Regions from separate parts of the Homo sapiens genome. Here all the other regions are linked to region 1. Evidence: promoter capture Hi-C in 16 types of primary human blood cells and fetal thymus (Javierre and others, 2016). All regions are on one chromosome and are shown on one strand. Each heading gives the region's core, a stretch centred on a gene start or on the middle of the fragment in contact. The rest is flanking DNA. Distances are from core to core; before and after follow the strand shown. Region 1 holds the start of OSBPL2 (oxysterol binding protein like 2). Region 2 holds the start of LINC00659 (long intergenic non-protein coding RNA 659). Region 3 holds the start of OGFR (opioid growth factor receptor).

The links. Contacts are between HindIII fragments. The CHiCAGO score rates a contact against its expected background, and 5 or more counts as called.
Region 2: the fragment with the promoter of LINC00659 here is called in contact with the fragment with the promoter of OSBPL2 in region 1 in 1 of 17 cell types (fetal thymus); the score reaches 5.2 in fetal thymus.
Region 3: a contact is called between the fragment with the promoter of OGFR here and the fragment with the promoter of OSBPL2 in region 1, in 1 of 17 cell types (neutrophils). The highest score is 6.4, in neutrophils.

The regions. Positions count from the first base shown.
Region 1 is chr20:62,237,071-62,240,965 of GRCh38, reverse strand. It overlaps OSBPL2 (oxysterol binding protein like 2), which reads right to left and starts at 2,445. Exons shown (of 14, transcript NM_144498.4): 1 at 2,369-2,445. RefSeq lists an enhancer at 696-1,620 and a silencer at 2,318-2,717. The HindIII fragment of the contact is 17,411 bases long and covers 1-3,895 here.
Region 2 is chr20:62,775,336-62,779,364 of GRCh38, reverse strand. LINC00659 (long intergenic non-protein coding RNA 659) reads left to right here and starts at 2,509. Exons shown (of 3, transcript NR_046225.1): 1 at 2,509-2,559; 2 at 3,979-4,029. RefSeq lists a silencer at 3,041-3,202. The HindIII fragment of the contact is 9,640 bases long and covers 1-4,029 here.
Region 3 is chr20:62,802,825-62,806,754 of GRCh38, reverse strand. It overlaps OGFR (opioid growth factor receptor), which reads right to left and starts at 1,920. Exons shown (of 7, transcript NM_007346.4): 1 at 1,725-1,920. The coding sequence starts at 1,895. It overlaps OGFR-AS1 (OGFR antisense RNA 1), which reads left to right and starts at 1,168. Exons shown (of 3, transcript NR_102430.1): 1 at 1,168-1,287. RefSeq lists silencers at 987-1,046, 1,197-1,366, 1,427-1,576, 1,657-1,726 and an enhancer at 1,242-2,147. The HindIII fragment of the contact is 9,717 bases long and covers 1-3,930 here.

The DNA.
Region 1 (3,895 bases), core at 1,196-3,695:
ACTCAGAACGGAGACCTCAGAGTCTGGACTGTACGCCTGTCAGCACCCATGCCCCTCAGTCCTCCCTCTTCACACAGAGACCACCACTGAATCTGCCAGTAACAAAGGAGCTGGGTGGCAGGGAAGGTATTCTGGCAAAATCCTGAATGGTCAAACGGTAAATTACTTTATTTCAGAAAAAATGAAATGGCTTTGTAAACACTCAGGCTCACAAAAAAGAAAGTCTATTAGTTCTATATGTAGCAAAATCCCGAAATTCTGACACAGAGTAATGCAGCATGATTAGAATATTCTAAACGAAAATGTTAAATGAAAATCTTGATATTAAAAGGCAGTACAGGGTAGTGTTTAAGAGTGTGAACCCTGGAGCCTGGGTTCAAATCCATATTTCATAATTTACTGCTGTGTGGTTTAGGTAAGTTACTTAACCTCTCTGTTCCTTAGCTTCCTCATGAATGAACTAAGGATAATGTCAGTACCTGCCCAGTGGACTGTTGTGAAGATCACACAAAGAAAGTGAATACGACATGCTCGTAACAGTCCTGGAACAATCATTATTAAATATTATCGTCTGCTGGGGTAAGAGCTGTCATTAATAGATGGACACATGAAGAAAACAGGGTAAATTCTATGAGGGAGACTCAGTCACTCACTCACTCATTGCCACATTCTAAAAGACGACACTGTGGCAGGCACTGGGCTGGGCAGGGAGGAAGTGCCACCGACAAAGTTCCTGTCCTCAACAAGGGGAAGGTAACTGGCATTCCGGGGTGCGCACTAGGTGTCAGAGACTGTGGTAGAAAATGATTTCATGGCAGGGCGCGGTGGCTCGCACCTGGAATCCTAGCACTTTGGGAGGCTGAGGCAGGCGGATCCCTTGAGGTTAGGAGTTCGAGACCAGCCTGGCCAACATGGTAAAACCCCATCTCTACTAAAAATAAAAAAATTAGGCGGGCGTGGTGGCCGGCGCCTGTGGTCCCAGCTAGATGGGAGGCTAAGGCAGGAGAATGGCTTGAAGCCGGGAGACGGAGGTGGCAGTGAGTCAAGATCGCACCACTGCACTCCAGCCTGGGCAACAAAGCGAGACTCCATCTCAAAACATAAAACAAGAAAATGATCTCGTTTGCTTCTCTTATCAGCAAAGTGCTACATGTCCGGATGAAGGAGTTGAGGCTGACAGCCAGAAAAGAGGCCATGGGCACGAGTTAGGAAGGGCAGCAGGGACGGCCGTGGCTTCCCAGCATGTGGCCCCTGCACCAGTTCCGGGCTCCTCAACTCTCCGCTGTCCTCACCACACATCCAGCTGGTGGGAAGGCCGCACAGCACCCAGCCAGGCCCACAGCAGGCATTCGAGAAACGTCTATCCAACCAAACCGAATGGGACCCCTTCTCCAGGTGTTCCGGGCAGTCATCCCAAAGCTGCCGGAGCCAGGCTAGGCCAGGGCCTGTCCTAGAGGACGGTTCAGATAGAAACGCCCCTGGGAGGTGACCCTCACCCCAGGAGAGCCTGCAACACCCCGACACCCACTGCCTCGTCGCCGGTCCTCCCATGAAGCGGGGAGGCTGAGGTGCTGTGACGACCTAACAGTCTTGGTCTGGGCTTATAAACTTGGAAAGTCTAAAGACGTATTCTTCTGAGTACCAAAATATAACTGGCGAAAGAAGGAACCTCTTAAAATTACATTACCAAAGATAGGTTTTAGGTAGCAAGTTCTCAACCGTGTGTAGTCTGCTAAGATTTATAAATTAAAAACAAAAACAGAGCCCAGGGGAACGGACAAGGGCTCGCGGGCACCCTCCCCGGGACGACGTGCACACAGGCCTGCGGGACAAGAAGGCCAGGGTCGGAGTGGGACTGCGTCTCCCTGCCCTTCTTCCCGGCGGAACTCGCCCTCCTCACCTACAGGATCGCCCTAAATGCGCACGAAATCCTTCCCTGTTCCCGGTGAGGTGGTGAGAGAGGGCGAGGCCGCGAGCAGGTGCGCCCGTCCCCACTTCCTGCTCAGCGGGGCAGCAGGGGGGCTGGGGATCTCGGGGGGGCCGGGCCGGGGGTCCCGGGATCGCAGTTGCCGGGCGACCGCAGGGGGAAGGGTGCGGGGGCCGCGGGACCCAGGCCCAGGCCCCACGCCCGGCCGGAACTTTCCTCCCAAAGTTTCCCCGGGGCGCCAGGCTGCGGCCTAGGCCGGGCGCGCCTCCCAGTGGGGGTCGAGGCCGGGGCCGGGGCCGGGGCTGGAGGCGGCCTGCGGACCCGGGTCCTGCCCGGCCCGCCCTCCCCTCCCCGCCCCGGCTCCAGCCCCAGCCCGCGGCCCAGGCCCCGCAGCTCGCCGGGGTCCCGGGCCTTCGCGTGGCGGCGGCGGGGGCCACTCACCTGGACGCGGGTCCCTCGGTTGCCGGCCGAGCTCACTGCCGCCCCGCCCCCGCCCCGTAGGCCCGCGACCCACTGACACCGAGGCGGAAGTGCGGCCCGCCGCCTCGCCGACTGACAGCCCGCGCCCGCCACTCGCTGCGCCCGGCGCCGCCGCGTCGGCCGCTGCCTGCCCAATCAGCGCCCGGCCCGAGGCTCGCGCCGGGGGGTGGGACTATGCTAATCCCTTCGCGAAGGGCCTCTACCTGTGCCCCCTCAGAGCCCCGCCCACGCAGCGGAGTGACGGCAAGGACAGCCAGTCACAGCAGGAGAGAGGCGGGGTTATGCCGCCCCTGAGCCAAAAGGGGAGGGAGGCAAGGAGGAAAGGGCGTGGCTGCAGAGAGCAGAGTTGACAAACAGTGAGTCAGGTGGCCCGGGGCGTGGGTGCTCCGCCCTCAGGTGCACTGCGTCCTGGCGGCAGTGCGGGCCTGCGAGGCTACCCAAAGCCCTGGGGGCTTTTTCCTACAAATGCTGGGGACCGTGCGATAGCTGGGGCGTAGCTGCTTCCACTGTCCTACCAAATCCTGAATATCGTCCACCTCCTTTGCATGCCATTCACCGCCAACCAAAATCCAGCGCCAATTTACCCCTCCAGCTGCATCCCCGACCGTTTCACCACCATACTTAAAACCCTTTGGACTCCCACTGACCTACAGTGGCTCCAGGGTTAAGCCCAGAAGTTCTGGAATCAGACCTGGAGCTTGCATTCTTTACCAGCTGTGTGGATTTGGACAAATTAATTAACCTCTCTGAGTCTGTGATCACTCAGTTTCATCTGCAAACCAGGGTTCCCCTGTCAACATCTCATTGAAGTCATGGGTCTGGTTTGAGGTGAGTGGAGTGGCATAAACCAGGCTGGCTACATAGTCACAGCAGTTGGTTTAGGGGTCAGCCTGTGACCCAGTTCTAGCCAAAGAGGCTCAGTCCTGGGACTTTTGCTGTAGGGTCAGAGTTCAGACCGGAGGGGAGGCTGAAGTCAAATGACTCTCCCATCTGCCCACAGACCTCTCCAGAGCTGGGTTAGGTGAGAGAGGGAAGGGGCCAGTCTTCCACATCTCACTACCCGAGAACAGGGCTGCACGAGAATGAAGCCAGCCCAGAGGAAAGCCGGAGCAACCACGGCCGGGTCACGTGGACCCTGCTGCACCTCAGCAGGTCCTTTCCTTGACTTTTCAGTTACGTGAACCACATGCTTGTTTCTGCTTCAGCCCATTTGAGGTAAAGCCAAGAGTCCTGGGCTTCCTGTGGCCTTGAGAGCTCTGGCAGATGACCCGTGACCCCGCAGTGCGTCCTGCAGCAAAGCCAGCCCCCGTTGGGCCTCTGCACCCCCTCCTCAGGCCTTGTCTCCCCACTTCCAGGCTGCCCCTAGCAGGGCCATGGAGGCAGGGACAGGCCTTTGCCCCATCTGTGGCCCCGTGGCAGACGTGGGTACTCTCTATAAATTTCAGGGCATGAGTGAGCCAATGAACGTGGCCTCTGTGGCAGGGGTGG
Region 2 (4,029 bases), core at 1,260-3,759, 540 kb before region 1:
GCCCCGGGGCCAACAGCTCCTGCTTTCTGAAGGGAAGGTGGGGGCTGTGGGGGCTGCAGGGGGTGGGTGTCACTCAGAGGGCAGCATGGCAGGGAGGGGACCTGTGGCAAGTTTTTGGATCAGAGGGGCAGCGACACAGGGCTAGAACCCTGAGGGTGAGCTGGGAATGGGCAGAGGAGGGCTCAGGGCCTCAGCTCTGCCTCCTGTCGCAGCTGCCCTGGCCAGGTGGCCCGGTGGGACGAGGCCTCCTGGTGGCAGACGCTGCCTCTCATGACTCTTGATGTGCCGAGAAGGTGTGGCCAGGGGCTGTCCTGGCTGGGGCTGGGATGCGGGACGGGGGCCAGGATCCCAGGGTGGAAAAGGGTGGATCTTAAAGTTCATGCCACATCCCCCAACCCAAGGCGGATTCTCTTTCTTGCTGCACCAGTCAGGGCCTGGGGAATGAACTGGCCACTCAGGGTCACGGGCCCACCATCCTCAGCTCCTCTCCCCATCTGTAAATGGAGACAGGGAGGAGTCATTGCCTGGGGCCACCGGAAGCCAGCAAGGCCGGGCCCCAGAGCCACTGCCCAAATGCAGGCTTCCAGGCCTTCTCCCAGACACTGCGGTGTGGGCGTCCGAGACCCAGAGAGGCAGCCTCATGCGCTGGGGCGGGGAGCCAGACGGAGGGTACCCAAGGCCTCCCGCACCAGCCTCATTGATGTGCTGTTCCCCACTGGGCTTGGTACACACAGTAGGTGCTCATTAAATGTGTGTTGAGTGAAACAGACAAATGCAAAGTGGCAGAGTGGGGGCTGCGAGGACAGGTACAGGAGCCCAGGGGCTGTAATCAGGGCCAGGCTGTGTGGTGCAAGGGCCCCGGAGAAGGAGTCATCAGCCTTGGGTCACCTCCTGCAGGCCAGGGTTCACGATGTGAGACAAGAGGCAGGATCACACCAGCCAACAGAGGACCACCCCATCAGACAGGCTGGGGACCACACCATCGAATAGGCCAGGGAACCACACCATCAGATAGATAGGCTGGGGACCACACCAACCACACCATCAGATAGGCTGAGGACCATGCCATCAGACAGGCTGGGGACCATGCCATCAGACAAGCCGGGGACCATGCCATCAGACAAGCCGGGGACGACGCCATCAGACAGGCTGGGGACCAAACCATCAGATAGATAGGTCGGGGACCACACCTTCAGATAGGCTGGGGACCACACCATCAAATAGACCAGGGACCAAGCCATCAGACAGGCCGGGGACCACGCCATCAGACAGGCTGGGGACCACACCTTCAGACAGGCTGGGGACCACACCATCAAATAGACCAGGGACCAAGCCATCAGACAGGCCGGGGACCACACCATCAGACAGGCTGGGGACCACACCATCAGACAGACCGGGGACCATGCCATCAGACAGGCCGGGGACCACGCCATCAGACAGGCCGGGGACCACGCCATCAGACAGACTGGGGACCACGCCATCAGACAGGCCGGGGACCATGCCATCAGACAGGCTGGGGACCACGCCATCAGGCAGGCTGGGGACCACGCCATCAGACATGCTGGGGACCACGCCATTAGATAGACTGGCCAGGGACCATGCCATCAGATAGGCTGGGGCAAAGCCATCAGACAGGTGGAGGTCCATGCCATGGGGCATGAGGTGGTGTCTGTCACCTGGTCCGGGAGCACAGTGTTGCCCATCCGTGCCACCTCCCTGAGGCCCTGGCAAGCATCATTCTCTAATGCAGACAGATGGCTGGGGCGCCAGCAGGAGCCAGACTGCCGCGGAGCAGGAACTGGGCAACTAAGGGTGATTTGGGCCGTAGAGAAGTGATTGATGTGGACAAATGGAGTCTGCAATGCAGGCCCCACGCCACCCTGGCTCCCTGTGCGAACCCAGGGCTCTGCTGCCCTGGCGGGGCTGACTCCATGGACGAGGTGGCTCATGTAGGGCTGGCTGGAAGTAATCATGTCACCCCCTGCAATCATGCCCCCAGGAGATTAGAATAGGACCCTGATCCCTCGTTTCTGTCCTATCCCCTCCTTTCCGTCCCATCTCCTCCTTTCTGCCTCATCTCCTCCTTCCTGCCTCATCTCCTCCTTCCTGCCTCATCTCCTTCCTGCCTCATCTCCTCCTTCCTGCCTCATCTCCTCCTTCCTGTCCCATTTCCTCCTTCCAGTCCCATCTCCTCCTTCCAGTCCTATCTCCTTCCTGCTCCCATCTCTTCCTTCCTGTCCCATTTCCTCCTTCCCGTTCCACCTCCCTGTTCCCATCTCCTCCTCCTGTCCCGCCCCCTCCTTCCTGTCCCGCCCCTCCTTCCTGTCCCACCCTCTCCTTCCTGTCCTGCCCCTCCTTCCTGTCCCGCCCCCTCCTTCCTGTCCCGCCCCTCCTTCCTGTCCCACCCCCTCCTTTCTGTACCTGTTGACCTCATCTGGGCTGCAGTTGGTGACTGCTCGAAGGGGTGGGAGGAACAGTATAAAGTCCTGTCCCCTTCCTGCCTTCAAGGGCACCCCTGAAGGACCATATCCACTGTGGACCCCCTTGGGATCAGCCGAGGTCTGTAGAGGTGACATTGCAGCCCAGCACCTCCCTCCTCCGCCCTGCCCTCCTCTGTCCTCCTTCCACAGGTGTGGCCAAGGGCACTGCCCAGTTGGCCTGTGACCCCCAGCTGAGGCTGCTTCCTGGGCAGCTGACTTCAAGTTTGTGACCTGAGCTCTCCAGGCCCCCGAGCGGCTGGTGCCTTGGCCCTGCAGTTCTGCGGCCAAGACTCCTCCTCTGGGATCTCGTCTTACCCTGCTGCGGGTGCCAGGGCTGCATGAAGCAAGGGCGAAAGTCCCCTTCGCCCGGGCGCTGCCCTCTGCCTGCTGTCCCCTGTGCTCCTGTTCCCCGTGGCTGCCCAGGGACAGGTGTGTGGGATGGAGGACGCGGGAGAGGCTGAGTCCTCCCCAGTGGACCCCCAGATGCAGACCCTGAGGCAAGGGAGAGTGAGAAAGTGAAGGAAAGAACACAGCTGGAAATGCAACCAAGAAGGAACCCCAGCCCGGACCACTGTGAGCAAGGAGAGCCGAGCCCCGGGGAGCCCTGAGACAGTGTGGGAGTGGAGGCCTGGGGCGCCTCCAGGCAAGGCAGCGGGATGTCTATGCCCCAAGCCCTGCCAGTCGTGGATGGAGACGCACACTTTAGTGCGGGCTCCAGAGACAGAGGGAGCCCCAGGCCGAGAGCTGTGGGTGCTGGGCAGGTGGGCATTGGCCAGCATTGCCCCCACTCATGGCGGGTCCACCTTAATTCGACGGGTGTGACACTCTCCTCACACATGTGCACATTCAAGAGGCAACTGTCTGTTTCTATAACTGGGTGCATTTCGGTCTGGAGCCGTCGAGCCGGGTGGTGGCCATGAATCCCAGGCAACTTGGGGGGCCCAATCCAGGGTTGCCTTTTGGGGGCCTTGGGGCGGCTAGTGCAGTTCCACATGCTGTTAAGGACCTTGAGATGGGAGATTATTCTGGATGGTCAGGGTGGGCACAGTTTAATCACAGCCCCTCTAAGAGGGACTGGGAGGGTCAGGGTCAGAGGAGGAGAGGGGACGACGGAAGGGAGAGAGAGGCTGGGAGATGCCGTGCAGCCAAGGAGGGCAGGAACCTCTAGAAACCACAAAAGGCGAGGACACAATCTCTCCCCTGAGGCAGAGACCCAGGGCTGCCCCGCACAGTCGCGCAGATCGTGTACTGCCCTGCTCCTGGGGCTCATTCACACAGGTTGCCATGGCTGTGGGGTCCCTGGGGCTGGGCTATCTGCCAACCTGGGGGACGCTGCACCCTGTTTTCTGTCCTGTCTACTCCAGCTTTTCACACTCTCTGTTGCCCTTGTCCTTGGGCATCTCAGTGACTCGAAGGAATTGGGTCTTGAGACACAGCCGAGCCTGTGAGCGCTGACCTGTGTAAAGAAGACACCAGAATGAGATGTCTCCACACACAGAGAGCTGCAGCCGATGCCGGCCGGTGACTTGGGACTTGGATGCTTAACAGG
Region 3 (3,930 bases), core at 671-3,170, 570 kb before region 1:
CACTCGGTGGGTAGGGCAGGAATGGGCGTATTTGTCCAGGGCAACAATTGGGACCCAGGATCCTGGGGGAGTGCTAGAAGGGGGGTTAGGAGGCCCGGTCAGCCACTGTATCCCCTGGCTCCCCGCTGAGCTCCAGCTGGGACCTGGCGTTGCCTCTCTGCCTGATTTTTCTTTCTTATTTTTTTCCCCTCGAGATGGAGCTTCATGCAATCTCCACCTCCCAGGCAATCTCCACTCACTGCAACCTCCACCTCCCAGGCAATCTCCACTCACTGCAACCTCCACCTCCCAGGTTTAAGCGATTCTCCTGCTTCAATCTCTGGAGGAACTGGGATTACAGGTGCCCATCACGCCTGGCTAATGTTGTATTTTTAGTAGAGACAACAGTTTCACCATGTTGGCCAGGCTAATCTTGGACTCCTGACCTCTGGTGATCCGACTGCCCAGGCCTCCGAAAGTGCTGGGATTACAGGCCTGAGCCACCGCCACCGACCTCTCGGCCTGATTTCTCAACAGGGCCGCTGGTGTGGTTCTCTCGCCCCGCCTGATCATCAGTTTCTACTTCTCCTTCCTGGGGCCAGCGGGAGCCTCCCTGGGTCAGTTCTGGAGGCTGGGTCCTGACTGGATGTGGCCACACAGTCAGCCCACAGGTGCATACATGACACTGCCCAGGAAAAAGTGAAACAGCCCCGCCAGGGTCCAGCGCAGGCAGCTGGGGAGGCCTGAGGGGTCCAAAGGGGAAGGGGAGGGGCTTGTGGACAGAAGCCACAGCAGGAGGCAGAGGGAAGAGGTCAGGGGTCACGGGCGCCTGGCAGGATGGTCAGGGCCTCTGAGCACCGCTTCAGGAGAGCGGCCTGAGGAACTCCAGTGAGGAAAGCCCGTCAAGAGCCCACCCAGGGGTCACACCGTCCTGTGGGACAGAGCCAGACCCCACCCCCCTGCCCAGCCTGCCTGGCCGCTGCCCTCCCGGCGACAGGGCGGAGCCCCTCCGTGCTCTCTCACTGCCCGCTCCACCATGGCCAGGCGCAAACGCAAACAGTGCTGGGTGCCAAGGGGAGAATCCATGCGGAGCCGTCGAGTTCCATGCACTTCCCGGCCCTCCGCAACCCGGGCAGCTCAGCTGGAAGGCCGCTCCCAGATCAATCCCAGCTCCCCGACAGGGGGGCCGGACTGCGACAGTGTGGCGTTCCCAGCGCGGCAACAAAAGTAACCCCGGCGATGACAGGCGCCCGGCGGTAACAAAAGTAACAAGCGGAGGCCCCGTCGGCCCGCCCCGGGCTCCCGCAGGTGCAGACGCGAAGCCTCCCAGGCCAGACCCGGCCCGGGCCCCAGCCCCAGCCCCAGCCCCAGCCCCAGCCCCAGGCCGCGGGGCCTGCGCAGGGGCCGCCAGGAGGCCGAGGCGCGGGCCCGAGGCGGGAGGGGTTCCATCAGGGGCGGCCACGGCGGCTGGGGGCGGGACGCGCCCGAGGCACCCCCGGGGGGAACGGCGCCCACACACGATGGGGCCCGGGAGGCTCAGCTCCGCTGTCACCCACGCGCGGCCCCCGCACTTCCCCGCCGGGCCCTGGGGCTGGGGGTCGGCCGGTCTGGGGGGGGGTCCCCGGGGCTGCGGGAGCTCCAGGAGGCTCCAGGTGTCTCCGCCCGGGATGGGGGGGTCTCCCGTCCACGCAGCCGGGCGGGGGGCGCCGGGGACCCCAGGCCTCTTCCGCGCCGCGGGGCCGCACCTGGAACGAGCTGGGCCGCGCCGCCCGCGGCTCCTCCGACTCCTCGTCCTCGTCCCCTGCGTCCGCGTCCCTCGCGCCGGCGGCCTCGCCGTCCTCGCAGTCCTCGTCCTCCGCGTCCTCCGCATCCTCCTCGTCCTCCTCCCAGGTGGAGTCGCAGTCGGGGTCGTCCATGCTCGGCGGCGGCGGGGCTCGCGCTGGAGGCGGAAGCGAAACCGAAAGCAGAGGAAGCGCGGGGGGCGGGCGGGGGGAGGGGACGGAGCGGCCCAGGCCCCGCCCGCGTCCGCGCGCAACGCCCCTCCCTCCCCGGGACGCCCGCCCCGCGCCCCTCCCTCCCCCGAGAATCCCCCAACGTCCGCCCGGGAGGATGCCCCTCGCGGAACGCCCACCCCCACCCCACGATGCCCACCCGGGAGGATTCGCCCCACCCCGTCTCGCAAGGATGCCCGCCCTAGGAGATCCTCCCTCCCGAAAATGTCCCCAAAGCCTGCCCGCCCCCCAGAGGACGGTCTCCCCGGAAGATGAGCCGGGTACCTAGGAAGGATGTCTTCCCGACGATGTCCTCCCAGCAGGATTCTCTCCCCGGAGGATGCCTGCCCCGCAGAGAATCCCCTCTTCCAGGAATATTTCTGTCCCCCAAGAGAAATCCCCCCAGAGGATGTCCCCATCAGAAGAATGTCCCTTGGAGGATAACCCCCGGAGGGGCCACGTGTCCACAGGGGCCTCTCTCCCTAAGCTGGGTGTGTAGGGGTCTCTGTCCTTCTGCTGCGGGCTGGGGGCCTTACTCAGCTCCTGGAAGCTGCTGGCGGACCCCTGTCCCTCCATAGGCAGTGCAAAGCACGGCCGTTTTCTTTTCAAAGCCACCAGGGGAGTCTTTCTCTCTAGGGTGCCGAGTCTTATATAACCAGGATGACATGGGCAAGCCGTGGCTTCCTTCACCTTTGCCGCCATCTCTCAGTTGTAAGAAGGCACTTAGGGGAGAGGACCACACGAAGCCTGGGCCACCGGGAGGGTCACCCTGGGGACTGTTCAACACAGCTGATGCCAGTTCAGCGCCTCCTCAGGGCCCTCTCTCTAAGCACTGGCAGATATGGGGCAACACAAAGTCACTTTCACCTGCCATTTCCCAGCACCGCGGGTCCCTTGCTCATCCACCTTTGACATCTGCTGGCAGATACATGGCAAGGTTGGTGACCTCTTGAAATAAAAATCAGGAGTGGCCACTCCAGATAAATTTCTTCTGTAACTGCTATACCAATTCATTTCAAAACATTTAGGTAAAACTAAATCTGGATTTTGGACTTGGCCATGAGGATAGCTCCTCGCAGAGTTGTCCCTGTAATGATGGTGGTGGAAAGGTGGAGAAGGCCCCAGCCCAGCCCCTAGGGGACACTGCCATCTCCTAGCCCTGCAGGCCTGCTGGGCCTGGGAACTGGTGACATTCCTTGTACTGTGTGCCAGGGACAGCCGTGAACGCAAGTCTTCCAATCCTGGCCACAAGTACAGGTTAAGGACCCTCTGGGTGCTGGGCCCTAATCTTTGCTGACCTGTTGACCACTGTTAGCAGGTGCAGTCTCACCTGGCTGGAACCTGTGGACATGCATCACACTTTCTTGAAACGACAGTGGTGATGCCCCGAAGTTCTGGGGCGCTGGACATTTCTGTAAATCAACTTAGTGCAGTGGCCAGGGCAGGTTTCCCAGGGAGCCTGAGTGAGCTGCCTGACCTCCTTGTTAGATGATTTACAGGTGGGATCTGGTTGCAGCATCAGAATAGACTGTGAGGTGGAGTCGGGGGGCTCTGATGGGGACATTGATGGGTGCTGGGTGGTTGTATAGGGTTTGGGTGATCTGAGACTTGGGTGGTCAGGCTGCCCCCTCCACTGCCCCAGAAAACAGAAAGACAAGCATACTGGGTGCTGACAACATTGTTCTACGGGGACAGCATTCCCGCTGCTACCTACTGTCGGCAGGACTATAGAACCACTTCCCTAAAAAGAGTATTAGAGACATTGCCCAACTTCTGTTTTACAAATATCACCACACCAAATTGCTTCTTTAGTTGCTTTTGTGTTGTGTGTGTGTGTGTGTGTGTGCAGAGCTCATCTCGGGGGCGTGCTAATCCAAGAAGTGCAGGAGCTGCTGCAGGGGACTGTGCAACAGAATTGCTTCTTCAGAGCATCCTCTGCAGTCCAGTGACGCCCCGTGTG